Regions from separate parts of the Homo sapiens genome. Here region 2 is linked to region 1. Evidence: promoter capture Hi-C in 16 types of primary human blood cells and fetal thymus (Javierre and others, 2016). All regions are on one chromosome and are shown on one strand. Each heading gives the region's core, a stretch centred on a gene start or on the middle of the fragment in contact. The rest is flanking DNA. Distances are from core to core; before and after follow the strand shown. Region 1 holds the start of PWP2 (PWP2 small subunit processome component). Region 2 holds the start of CFAP410 (cilia and flagella associated protein 410).

Evidence for each region. The method cuts DNA at HindIII sites, captures the fragments that hold promoters and counts their contacts. A CHiCAGO score of 5 or more calls a contact.
Region 2: a contact is called between the fragment with the promoter of CFAP410 here and the fragment with the promoter of PWP2 in region 1, in 2 of 17 cell types (total B cells and naive B cells). The highest score is 5.4, in total B cells.

What each region holds. Positions count from the first base shown.
Region 1 is chr21:44,105,562-44,111,111 of GRCh38, reverse strand. It overlaps PWP2 (PWP2 small subunit processome component), which reads right to left and starts at 3,713. Exons shown (of 21, transcript NM_005049.3): 1 at 3,678-3,713; 2 at 2,016-2,128. The coding sequence starts at 3,695. It overlaps TRAPPC10 (trafficking protein particle complex subunit 10), which reads right to left. Exons shown (of 23, transcript NM_003274.5): 23 at 4,560-5,550. RefSeq lists silencers at 3,677-4,060, 3,651-4,167. The HindIII fragment of the contact is 7,342 bases long and covers 1,562-5,550 here.
Region 2 is chr21:44,338,057-44,344,043 of GRCh38, reverse strand. It overlaps CFAP410 (cilia and flagella associated protein 410), which reads left to right and starts at 4,654. Exons shown (of 7, transcript NM_004928.3): 1 at 4,654-4,926. The coding sequence starts at 4,850. RefSeq lists enhancers at 29-584, 1,327-1,970, 1,971-2,613, 4,476-4,695 and silencers at 4,696-5,065, 5,366-5,485. The HindIII fragment of the contact is 4,638 bases long and covers 1,202-5,839 here.

The DNA of each region.
Region 1 (5,550 bases), core at 2,464-4,963:
CTTATAGAGCACAGGCAGAGTAGCTTGGGCATCATTGTGAAGGGCATTAGGATTTTCAGAACAGTGAATTAGCACTGGCTTCAACTTAATGGCCCCAGCTGCATTAGCCCCTAATAAGAGAGTCAGCCTGTTGTTTGAAGCCAGACACTGACTTTTCTCTAGCTATGTAAGTCCTCGATGGCATCTTTTTCTTTTTTTTTAATTTATTTATTTTTAGATAGAGTCTTGCTCTGTTGCCCAGGCTGGAGTGTACTGGCACGATCTCAGCTCACTGCAACCTCTGCTTCCCAGGTTCCAGCAATTCTTCCACCTCAGCCTCCTGAGTAGCTGGCATTACAGGAATGTGCCACCATGCCTGGCTAATTTTTGTACTTTTAGTAGAGACGGGGTTTCACCATATTGGCCAGGCTGGTCTCAAGCTCCTGGCCTCAAATGATCTGCCTACCTTGGCTTCCCAAAGTGTTGGGATTACAGGCATGAGCCACTGCGCCTGGCCATCTTTTTCCAATAGAAGGCTGTTTTGTCTCCATTGAAATTTTGTGTTTAGTGTAGTCAGCTTCATCAATGATCTCAGCTAGATCTTCTGGATAACTTCCTGCAGCTTCTCCATAGCACTTGCTGCTTCGCTTTGCACTTTTATGTTGTAGAGATGGCTTCTTTCCTTAAACTTCATGAACCAACCTCTGCTAGCTTCCAACTTCTTTCCTGCAGCTTCCTCACCTCAGCCCTCACAGAACAGAGGACAGGTAGGGCCTTGCTGTGCATTAGGCTTTGACTTGCTTAAAGGAATGTTGTGGCTGGTTTGATCTTCTATCTGGATCACTCAAACTTTTATCCGTATCTGCAATAAGGCTATTTTGGCTTTCTTGTAATTTGTGTGTTCACTGGAGTAGCACTTTTAATTTCCTTCAAAAGCTTTTTCTTTGCATTCACAACTTGCCTGTTTGGTGGCAGAGACCTGGCTTTTGGCCTATTTCAGCTTTTGACATGCCTTCCTCACTAAGCTGAGTCCCTTCTAGCTTCTGATTTCAGGTGAGAGTTGTGTGACTCTTCCTTTCACATGAACACGTAGTGGCCACTGTAGGCCATTATTAACTGGCCTAATTTCAGCATTGTTTGTGTCAGGGAATAGGGAGACCCAAGTAGAGGAAGAGAGACGTGGGGGGGTGGGGAACAGCCGGTCGGTGGAGCAGGCACAGCACACACAGTGCTTACCGATTAAGCTCGCTGTCTTACATGGGCACGGATCACGGCACCCCAGAACAATCACGATAGCAACAGCAAAGATGATCACAAATCACCCTCACAGGTATAATAAACTTTGAAATATCACAAAATTACCAAAATGTGACACAGAGACATGAAGTGAGCCCCCACTGCTGGAAAAATGGCACCGACCAACTTTCTCCAAGCAGTGTTTCCACACACCTTCGCTTCGTGGTAAAACAGCATCCGCACAGAGCCAGAGTGCAACAAAGTGAAGCAAAGTGCAACAGCACACAGGAAGAAACCGCTAAACCCCAGCGAATAAAACTGACCTCCGGCTGCAGAGCTGGAAGCTTTGGGCCTGCCCGTCCGACTGGTGAGGCCCAGTGGCAGCAGGGCTCCCGAGCAGGGGTCCAAGGTACCTTCAACTCCCCCAGCAGCCCTGGCCTTTCAGCCCTTAGGGGCCTTCCCTGATGGGGGAAGGGCTAACCCTGAGCTACACCTTTTCCCCCACCCACCCTTCACAGCACAGGGACAGGGTCCCTTCCCACAGAACGGAGCCAAGTGACACACCACTTTATGGGGCCTGGCTAAGGCACTACAACGAAGAACTGGGTCTGGCTGCCAATTTCCACAACTGATCTGCTGACCCTAGTCTGTCCTGTAGTCCTGTCCTGGGCTCCCTTAATTAACGGGTGCACCATTAAAAGGAAGGCACAGAAGACACTATCAGTTTTCATATGTTACTTAAAAAATGGTGATAATAGTAATCAGTATCACTATTATGAATACCACTTTCACATACTTACTTTTTAAGGTCAAATACAGTGACTCTATTGCCCACGGGACTGATAACTGAATTTCCATCGCAGGTAAAATTTAGGTTCCCACGCCGGTACACCGTACCCAGCAAATTTGAAAACTGTGAAGAAAACAAAATTGTCTTAACACAAAGAAAACAGTCGACTCCCAGAAAAGCACTAAGTGAGGCATCTGGGCAGAGAGATGGCATAGAGAACCCCACCTTGGGGGCCCGTTCACCTTTCCTGGGTAAGAGAGGAAGAAGTGAGCCTGATCCTCAGGAGACCAGAGGAGCCCGGGCGGCCCCAAGCTCCCACAGAGATGGGTAAGATGCCCCTGTGAGCACTGAGGAAGCCTCCCAAGACAGGAGGCGTCTGCCAGGTGAAGAGGGGCATGGAGCCCACACTTCACCAAGAAAAAAGCTGCAACAATGGAACAGCACCCCAAAAGTGCTTAGAACTCAGGGCTTCCAGAAGTGTGGTAAGCCAGCATCCTATTTACTAACTCACGAGCACGAGCGTTCACTGGAGACTGCCATGCGCACAGACACGCACACCTTATATTCTCTCTCTAGCAGGAGGGGGATGAGAAGTGTGGGAGCAGGGGCTACTTTAGACGGTGGTCACGGAGAGGCACCTGGAAGGGTCACCTGAGCTGGAATCTAAATGGGAAGGCACCAGCCAGGCCCTGAAGCTGTGAGTGGGCAGCGCCCTCAGGACCTCAGGGAGGAGCTTGGTCAGCAGAAGGACTTTAAGCGGCCAGGCAGGCTCCAAGGCACATTTTTTGCCACCTTGCAGTAGGAATGTGGAGCGGATGAAGTCCTGGCCTGTGAGGACGTGGATATGGTTTCTGGTTTGGTGCTGGGCACACAGCGGTGGCTCCACCAGCACAGGGGACACAGGAGCAGCACTCTGAGGGGCCAGTACCATGCCCAGTTTCGGACAGGACAAGTGTAGTACACGGTGGGCTCAGCAGCAGGCGGCCCGTGCAACCCTGGAAGCGCAACGGTCAGGGCCACTGTGGGAAACACAGGCGTCCCCATAACCGGCCAGCTGTAGCAAACGCTTCAGAGACCCCCAGGCCGGCTCCACGGCCCCCTCTTATTACCTGTCTCACCCGCCTCCTGCACTTCACATCTGGGACAAGTCTTCCCTGGCTCTCAAAGCTGAGGGCGTCCGCCTCAGGAATTCCCTCCGGCCTCGGGAAACAGAGCTCACACCTGGGTTCCCCGCCCTTCCGCTCACCTGGACGCTCGCTCGTTAGGGACCAGTCCCGGGCCCCGGGTCCCTGCTGTTCTCACCCCGCCTGCGCGCGCCCGCGTCCCCGCCCCGTCCCACCTCCTCATCCCTCCCGAGGGTGCTGTGCCCTCCCCGACTGCACCAACTCCAGCCTTTAGGTTGGGCCATACTCAGGTTAAAAATATCCCGGGACCCCGACAAATGTCCCTGTTCCCTCCGAGAAGCCGTCGGCGCCTCCGTCCCAGCTCTCCCAGGAGCCCCACCACAGCCCCGCGTCCCCGAGGCCACGGGCGCGCAGACAGCCGGCGACCCCCACGCGGCCAGACGCCGCAAAAGCAGACCACGCGCCCCCAGCCCGCCCGGAGCCAGCTCAGGCGCCGTCCACCGGAAGAGCCGCGCCGATCCAACAGACCGCCCGCCGCCCGCGCTCACCCGGTAAGCGAACTTCATCACGGCCGTCGCACGTGTGCCGCAGCTCAACCCGGCGGCCGCCCACAGAGACACTTCCCGGGGGTCCGCGCGGCACCGCCCACAGCACGCACTTCCGGGAAGCGACGGCGTGCACCGCCCACAGCGCGCGCGCCCGGGACGGGGTCGCGCACCACCGTCCGCAGCGGCCCAGGAGGCAGGAGGAGCTGCGTCGCCCTCGCCCCGCCCCGAGGCGGAGTTTGAACGCGAGGCCCAACCCCTCCCAAGGCGGGGGCCTTCTCCGGGCCCCGCCCACACCCCGGAGCCACACTGCAGGGCGCCTCTTAGGCGCGCTCCAGCGCTGGGCGCGCTCCGCACGGACGCCCAGCCTGGCACAGCAGCGTCCACAACATGAGAGCGCTGCACACCCAAATGTCTTCGTTCTTGTGAACTGTTGGGTAAGGAATTATGAATAAAGTCCCGAATGCTGGCCGGTGCGGTGGCTCACGCCTGGGAGACTGAGGCGGGTGGATGACCTGAGGTCAGCAGTTCGAGACTAGCCTGGCCAACATGGTGAAACATCATCTCTACTAAAGTATAAAAATGAGGCGCATGCCTGTAGTCCCAGCTACTCGGGAGGCTGAGGCAGGAGAATGGCTTGAACCTGGGAGGCGGAGGCTGCAGTGAGCCCAGATCGCGCCATTGCACTCCAGCCTAGGCAACAGAGCATGACTGTCTCAGAGAAAAAAAAAAAAAAAAAAAAAAAAATAATCCGAATGTTTCCCAAAAGGCAAATAATCTATGCCCAAGAGTCAGGAACAAGGACTAGGGAGATAAAACAATAAAATCTTCACATTACATACTGTTGTCACACCATGTCGCAGCAAAAGATCCAGTGCAAAATAGTTTCTTCTTAAAATGTGTATTTTCAGAATTACAATGCTTACATTTTAAAGTCTTAATACAATGGTTTTAATCTAACAATATATTACATAATATGAAAAATGACTTTTCATAGTAAACCATGAAAATGGAATACCTGCAGTGTCAAAGTCACCAACTTGTCACCTTTTCCAGTCACAGAATCCCAACACATTGTATTAATGATGACTGGGGGGGGTCTTACAGCCTGATGTATATAGGATGAATAAATGTAGAGAAAGGAGCATTTTCATGAAAAATAAAATTTAAAAACCAGGTAGGATTTATTTTAAAGAACACAGTTGAAAGTAAAACATTTACATCAGCCCAGTTTGCCCTTTTGTAAAAAGTAGTATAGCTTTTCATTTTATATACAAACCTGCAGTGTCTGATTTCATTTTAAAACTTAATTTTAAGCACTAAAGAAAATTTGAATAGAAGCCTGTGTGTATTTTCTCTGCTAATTCTGTATGGGATATCTGGCATCTCCACTAAGAGTAATTAATACAGGATCTGACCTTCCTAGGCTGTGCTGACAATGGAACTGTTGTAGGTAAAGTCATTTTCAGATTAAATACAACAATTTCCACATTAGAATCAGAAGAGTTATAATTTTTCCAATCATAGGACATCCCATGAAATTCACAAAAATTATAACTTATTTTATTTTCCATTTGACAGTATTTACATGTTCCACAGATATTTGTAAAACGGCTGCAAATTCCTTGCTTTTCAGATACACATTGCATATCTGGCTTCACAATTATTTAACATCTCTTTATCAACAAAACCAGCTTGTCTCAAACACATACACCTTACTTTAGATAAAAACAATAAACATCCAATTACAGTTACTCTTTTAGGACTTTTATGATGAACATTAAGAAAAAAATGACAATTTTGGGTGACATTCTTCTTTGTCTTAAAGAGGCAGAAGCATTCATGTAACATAGTTTGCAAAAGATCTTTTGGGTAA
Region 2 (5,987 bases), core at 3,405-5,904, 230 kb before region 1:
CTACAAACCATAAATTCTCATCAGACGGGTTTTATTTAACCCTATATGTCATAACTTACTTTCCAATCTGACTCTGGCATAACATGACAAGGAATAAAATCAAAATATTTTACCCCGAAACATGTTTCCTGCCATATTTTGAGACGCTCCTGCAAAGCCGTCCTTTGTGGGAGAAAATGTGCATCTGGAAGGAATCTCTATTCACATAGCTTGATCTTTTTCTTCCAGGCCCTCCCAATCCTGACGAGATTAACTGAGAGTCTAGCACCTTTTAAAGGTGTGAATAGGAAACATTCGTCATCGATTGTCTCTAAGGGCAGCCATTAAAGACTTCAAAAGAACCTTGGTCCCCACAGTCTTTTTTTTTCTTTTTTTCTGTGCAGTGGCGCAATCTCGGCTCACTGCAAGCTCCGCCTCCCGGGCTCACACCATTCTCCTGCCTCAGCCTCCCGAGTAGCTAGGACTACAGGCGCCCGCCCCCATGCCCAGCTAATTTTTTTGTTTGTTTTTTGTATTTTTAGTAGAGACAGGGTTTCACCGTGTTAGCCAGGATGGTCTCGATCTCCTGACCTCGCGATCCGCCCGCCTCGGCCTCCCAAAGTGCTGGGATTACAGGCGTGAGCCCCCGTGCCCAGCGGTCTCCACAGTCTTTTATCTGAACCTGAGCATTTCCTTTCTATGGATCCCAGGTCTTTAGACAAACTCAACCGTCAACCAGAAAATGTTTAAATTCACCGATAGCCTGGAAGCCCCCACTTTGAGTTGTCCCGCCTTTCTGAATCAAACCAACGTATTTCTTAAATGTATTAGATTGCTGTCTCATGCCTTCCTAAAAAGTAAAAAACCAAGCTGTGCCCCGACCACCTTGGACACATGTTCTCAGGATTTCCTGAGGGCTGCGTCACGGGCCATGGTCATTCATATCTGGCTCAGAATAAATCTCTTAAAATATTTTACAGAGTTTGACTCTTTTTGTCAACACCACGATATAGAAGGTTAAATAAAACCCATCTGATGAGAATTTATGGTTTGTAGGGCATGACTGTCCATGCCCTTTAGGAATTTGGGCAAGATAAAAAAAGAAAAATCAGAGTTTAGTCCTCAATTACTTCAAGGCCGAGAGTGAGTTCTGGCCTTGAAGTAATCTTGTTGGAGACAGAATGAGGTGTCCGGTCCCTTTCAGGAGCTGACCCCTGAAGCTTCCAAGCAAAGAGATGACCAGATAAGTGAGCATGGTGTGTGCTTAACAGGCATCCAGGTAAACTAAATGTGCATAAGGCCTGAGAGCACAGGATGGGAACGGAGTGGAGGTTCACATTCCCAGGCTGTATTTCAAGATGGAAGGTAACACAAGCAGCTTGTCTCAGTTACATCTTCAGACTAGGGTGGAGGAGGAGGAAAGGGGAAAGGGGAAAAAGTTTTAAAACATGGTTTGAGGCTTAGCTGTGTGAAAGGAATATAAAGCTCAAGACCTTAAAATCACTAAGTCAAGGGAAAAGTCAGCTGGAAAATGCATCAGGCAAACCTGCCTCCAATTTTATTCCTAAATAAGATCGCTACAAAGATAAAAAGCTATGAAGCTCCCTCACAATTTGCCCACAAGGAAATTCCTTGTGGGCCTCAAGATCTTTACCCTCAAACAGTTCTGTTGAATTTCACCCTGGAATGTAAACTGATAGCTGATCTTCACAGGTGTGGGACAGGAGGTCATCCCCCTGCTCACCGGAGACACATGCCTATCTGTTTGCTTTCTCTGCCTTATTGTTTATGTAAAAATGCAGATTTACTAAGCTAGACCAAATTGTGTATTCAGTGAAAGGACTCAAAAGAATGCAATCTTTTGTCTCTTATCCACCGATGACCTGGAAGCTGGAAGCCTCCCTCCACCCCCACAACCCCACCCGGCCTTCAAGGTGTCCTGCCTTTCCAGACTGAACTAATGTACATCTTTTTTTTTTTTTTAAGACGGAGTCTCGCTCTTGTTGCGCAGACTGGAGTGCAATGGCACAGTCTCGGCTCACTGCAACCTCTGCCTCCCGGGTTCAAGCGATTCTCCTGCCTCAGCCTCCAAAGTAGTTGGGATTACAGGCGCCCACTGTCAGGCCTCTGAGCCCAAGCTAAGCCACCATGTCCCCTGTGACCTGCACGTACACATCCAGATGGCTGGTTCTCGCCTTAACTGATGACATTCCACCATAAAAGAAGTGAAAATGGCCTGTTCCTGCCTTAACTGATAACATTGTCTTGTGAAATTCCTTCTCCTGGCTCATCCTGGCTCAAAAGCTCCCCTACTGAGCACCTTGTGACTCCCACTCTGCCCGCCAGAGAACAACCCCCCTTTGACTATAATTTTCCTTTATCTACCCAAATCCTATAAAACGGCCCCACCCTTATCTCCCTTCACTGACTCTCTTTTCAGACTCAGCCCACCTGCACCCAGGTGAAATAAACAGCTTGATTGCTCACACAAAGCCTGTTTGGTGGTCTCTTCACATGGACACGAGTGAAACCCACCACCGCGCCCAGCTAATTTTTTGTATTTTTAGTAGAGACAGGGTTTCACTATGTTGGCCAGGCTGGTCTCGAACTCCTGACCTCAGGCCATCCACCTGCCTCAGCCTCCCAAAGTACTGGGATTATAGGCGTGAGCCACCGCGCCCGGCTTAATGTACATCTTATACATATATTTTTTCTTCTTTTTCCATCTTACACATATTGATTGATGTCTCATGTCTCCCTAAAAATGTATGAAAGCAAGCTGTGCCCCAGCCACCCAGGGCACATGTCATCAGGACCTCCTGAGGCTGTGTCATGGGCTTGTCCTTAACCTTGACAAAATAAACTTTCTAAACAGATTGAGTCCTGTCTCAGATATTTTGGATTCACAGCTGCTAAGCTGCTCGGTTACAATTGAAGGCTCATGGGTTAGGGGTTGTTCAAAGGTAGTTTGGTGAACAGGGGGCTAGGGCATGGGGAGTGCTGATTGGTTAGGTGCGAGATGAAATCTAGCTGTCCTTTTGGTCCTTTTGTGCTGCATGGCTTCTGGGTGGGGCCACAGGAGCTGTTGGCAAGACATTTAGCTGGATCCATCCGTGTGAGACATGCAAGAAACCTGCAAAGGTACAATAGTGATGTTACCTGCAGGAGTAATTGGGGAAGTAGCTTATCTTGTGACCTCCAGAATAATGGCTGACGAATGTTTACATCTGCATCTTAGTGGAATTCATGCTCCTCTATCCTTCTAGGCTGGTAGTGTAACCGCCCAATGGGTTCGCCTTGCCCACTGCCTAGACAGAACCGATTTATCAAGGCAACGGAATTGCAATGGAGAAAGAGTAATACACACAGAGCTGGCTGTGCAGGAGAGCAGAGTTTTATTATCACTCAAATCAGTCTCCCCAAGCATTCGGGGATCCGTGTTTTTAAGGATAATTTGGCGGGTATGGGCTCAGAAAGTGGTGAGTGCTGATTGGTCAGGTCGAAGATTAAATCATAGGGGGTCAAAATGAGTTCTGGCTGACTTCTGTCCCTGGGTGGGATCACACACATGGTTGAGCCAGATTATCCGTTTGGGTGGTGTCATCTGCTGCATCTGAATGCAGGGTCTACAAAATATTTCAAGCACTGACCTTAAGTTTTGCAACAGTGATGTTATTCCCAGAAGCAATTTGGGGAGGTTCAGACTCTTGCCGCCAGAGGTTGCATGGCCCCTAAACTGTAATTTTTAATCTCGTAGCTTAATTTGTTAGTCCTACAAAGGCAGACTGGTCCCCAGGCAAGAAGGGTTTTTTTGGGAAAGGGCTATTATCAATTTTGTTTCAGTTTAATCTATAAACTAAATTCCTTCCCAAGGCTAGTCTGGTCTACACCCAGGAATGAACAAAAGCAGCTTAGAGGATAGCAGGAAGATGGGGTGGGTGAGGAGATCTTCCCCTGTCATAATTTCTTCAGTTATGATTTTTGCAAAGGCGGTTTCAGTGGTCTCATTAGCTTTACAAAGGCTGTTTAGTTTTGAGGAAGGGCTGCTATCACTTAAACTATAAATGTCTCCCAAAGTTACCTTTGCTTATCCAGGAATAATTAAGGGCAGTTTTAAGGCCAAAGGCAAGATGGGGGTTGGCCAGATCTCCTTCAAGGCCAACCTTCTCTCACCGATACAATTTTTTGCAAAGGCGGTTTCAGAACGTCAGAACGCCTGTCTTAATGTAACTGTGGCCCATGTAACGATGTTTAGAGGGTCTTATCTGATTTCTAAAAGGTTGAAATGCTTGTAAGGGCTCTGCTGGACCTGCCCGTGCGTCTTTCCTATAAATGCGTCTTTTCTGTAAATGCTGGGAGGGAGGGAGACAAGGAATCAACACAGCCCCAGGGCTGCCCTGGGTTTATTCCAAGAGTTTGAATCGCGTAACTTGGAGCTGTGTAGCGCCCATGCCATCCACGCTAGGCCTGCGCTCAGAGTCAGGCCTAGGCACTCGGCCATGATGCGCGTCGGACCGAGCCCACCCCGCTCGGTTCCTGGGAGCAGCAGTTCAGCCCTCACTGGGCCGACTCGGGGACCGCCACCTGCACCCACCCTCTGCTCGCTGCGCGCTTCCGGGGTCGCGTTAGAATCGCGTCAGAGAAGGGCGCCCCAGGCCGCGCATGAGCAGGAGCAGAGCCAACGTGTCAGCGGCGCCCAAGCGGCCCCAGCGGGCTCGCGTCGCCCCGCTCTCCTCACCGAGCCGCCAATCGGCTCAGGATCCGCCCCTGACGACGCGGGCCCCGCCCCTGGAGACACGCGCCGCGCAGTCGTCACCCGCCCGGGATCAGGAGGCCGGGGGCGCCCGCCGGTCGGGCCTGGGCGGCCGCCATGAAGCTGACGCGGAAGATGGTTCTGACCCGGGCCAAGGCCTCGGAGCTGCACAGCGTGCGCAAGCTCAACTGCTGGTGAGGCGGGGCCTGGCCGCGGCCGCCCCGGGGTGGGGGGAGGAGCCGGGGCGGGGCGAGGGCGGAGCCGGAGGGAGGAGCCGGGGCGGGGAGAGGGCGGAGCCGGAGGGAGGAGCCGGGGCGGGACGAGGGCGGAGCCGGAGGGAGGAGCCGGGGCGGGGAGAGGGCGGAGCCGGGGCGGGGAGAGGGCGGAGCCGGGGCGGGGAGAGGGCGGAGCCGGAGGGAGGAGCCGGGGCGGGACGAGGGCGGAGCCGGAGGGAGGAGCCGGGGCGGGACGAGGGCGGAGCCGGAGGGAGGAGCCGGGGCGGGACGAGGGCGGAGCCGGAGGGAGGAGCCGGGGCGGGGCGGGGCGGGGGCGGAGTGGAAGGGGGGAGGGGCAGGGGCGAGGGCGGCGAAGGAGCCGCGGGTGAGGGAGGGGAGGAGGCCGGGGGTCGGGGTCGCCTGGGCCCCCCCCCATTTCCCGGCCCGCCTTTGCCCCGGGTGCCCTGTGGGCTGGGTCTGTTGTCTGGGGTTGCCAGCAGTCACTGGGACCAAGTCGAATAGGAGAGAGAACTGAGCTTTCCAGGACTGAGTCAGGAAACACGTTGGTAATCAGTACTGGGGGCGGCCGTTCCCAGGGTACTCCTAGCAGGTGACAGGAAGGGACGTGGGTGCGGTGGGACCCAGGCAGGCTGAAAGGCAGGTAATGCTGAGTCTCACTGAGCCAAGGAAGACCAGGAGCTTCCAGAAGAGGGAGCCTGGAGTTGAGGCCTGCAAGATCTCCAGGGTTCCCTGGGGACTCAGCAGAGTGACCGCGCCGTGTCAACTGGCCTCACCGTGCAGGCGGGTGTGGGGGTCAGCGAGAGCAGACGCTTCCTCCCAGGGGTGTCCGCAGACTGCCCAGAGTGAGCTCTTCCCTGTTAATTAAAAAGCTTTTCTCTCTGCCCTGGCATATCTGGTGTTTTGGCTACAATTCCCGTGTCATTTGCTTTCAATAATGCATTTCTTTGTTTTGCATGGGGTGGTCAGTACTCCCACTAAGCTGGGAGAAACAACAACCCTGTTTCAGGCTTTTAAAGTTT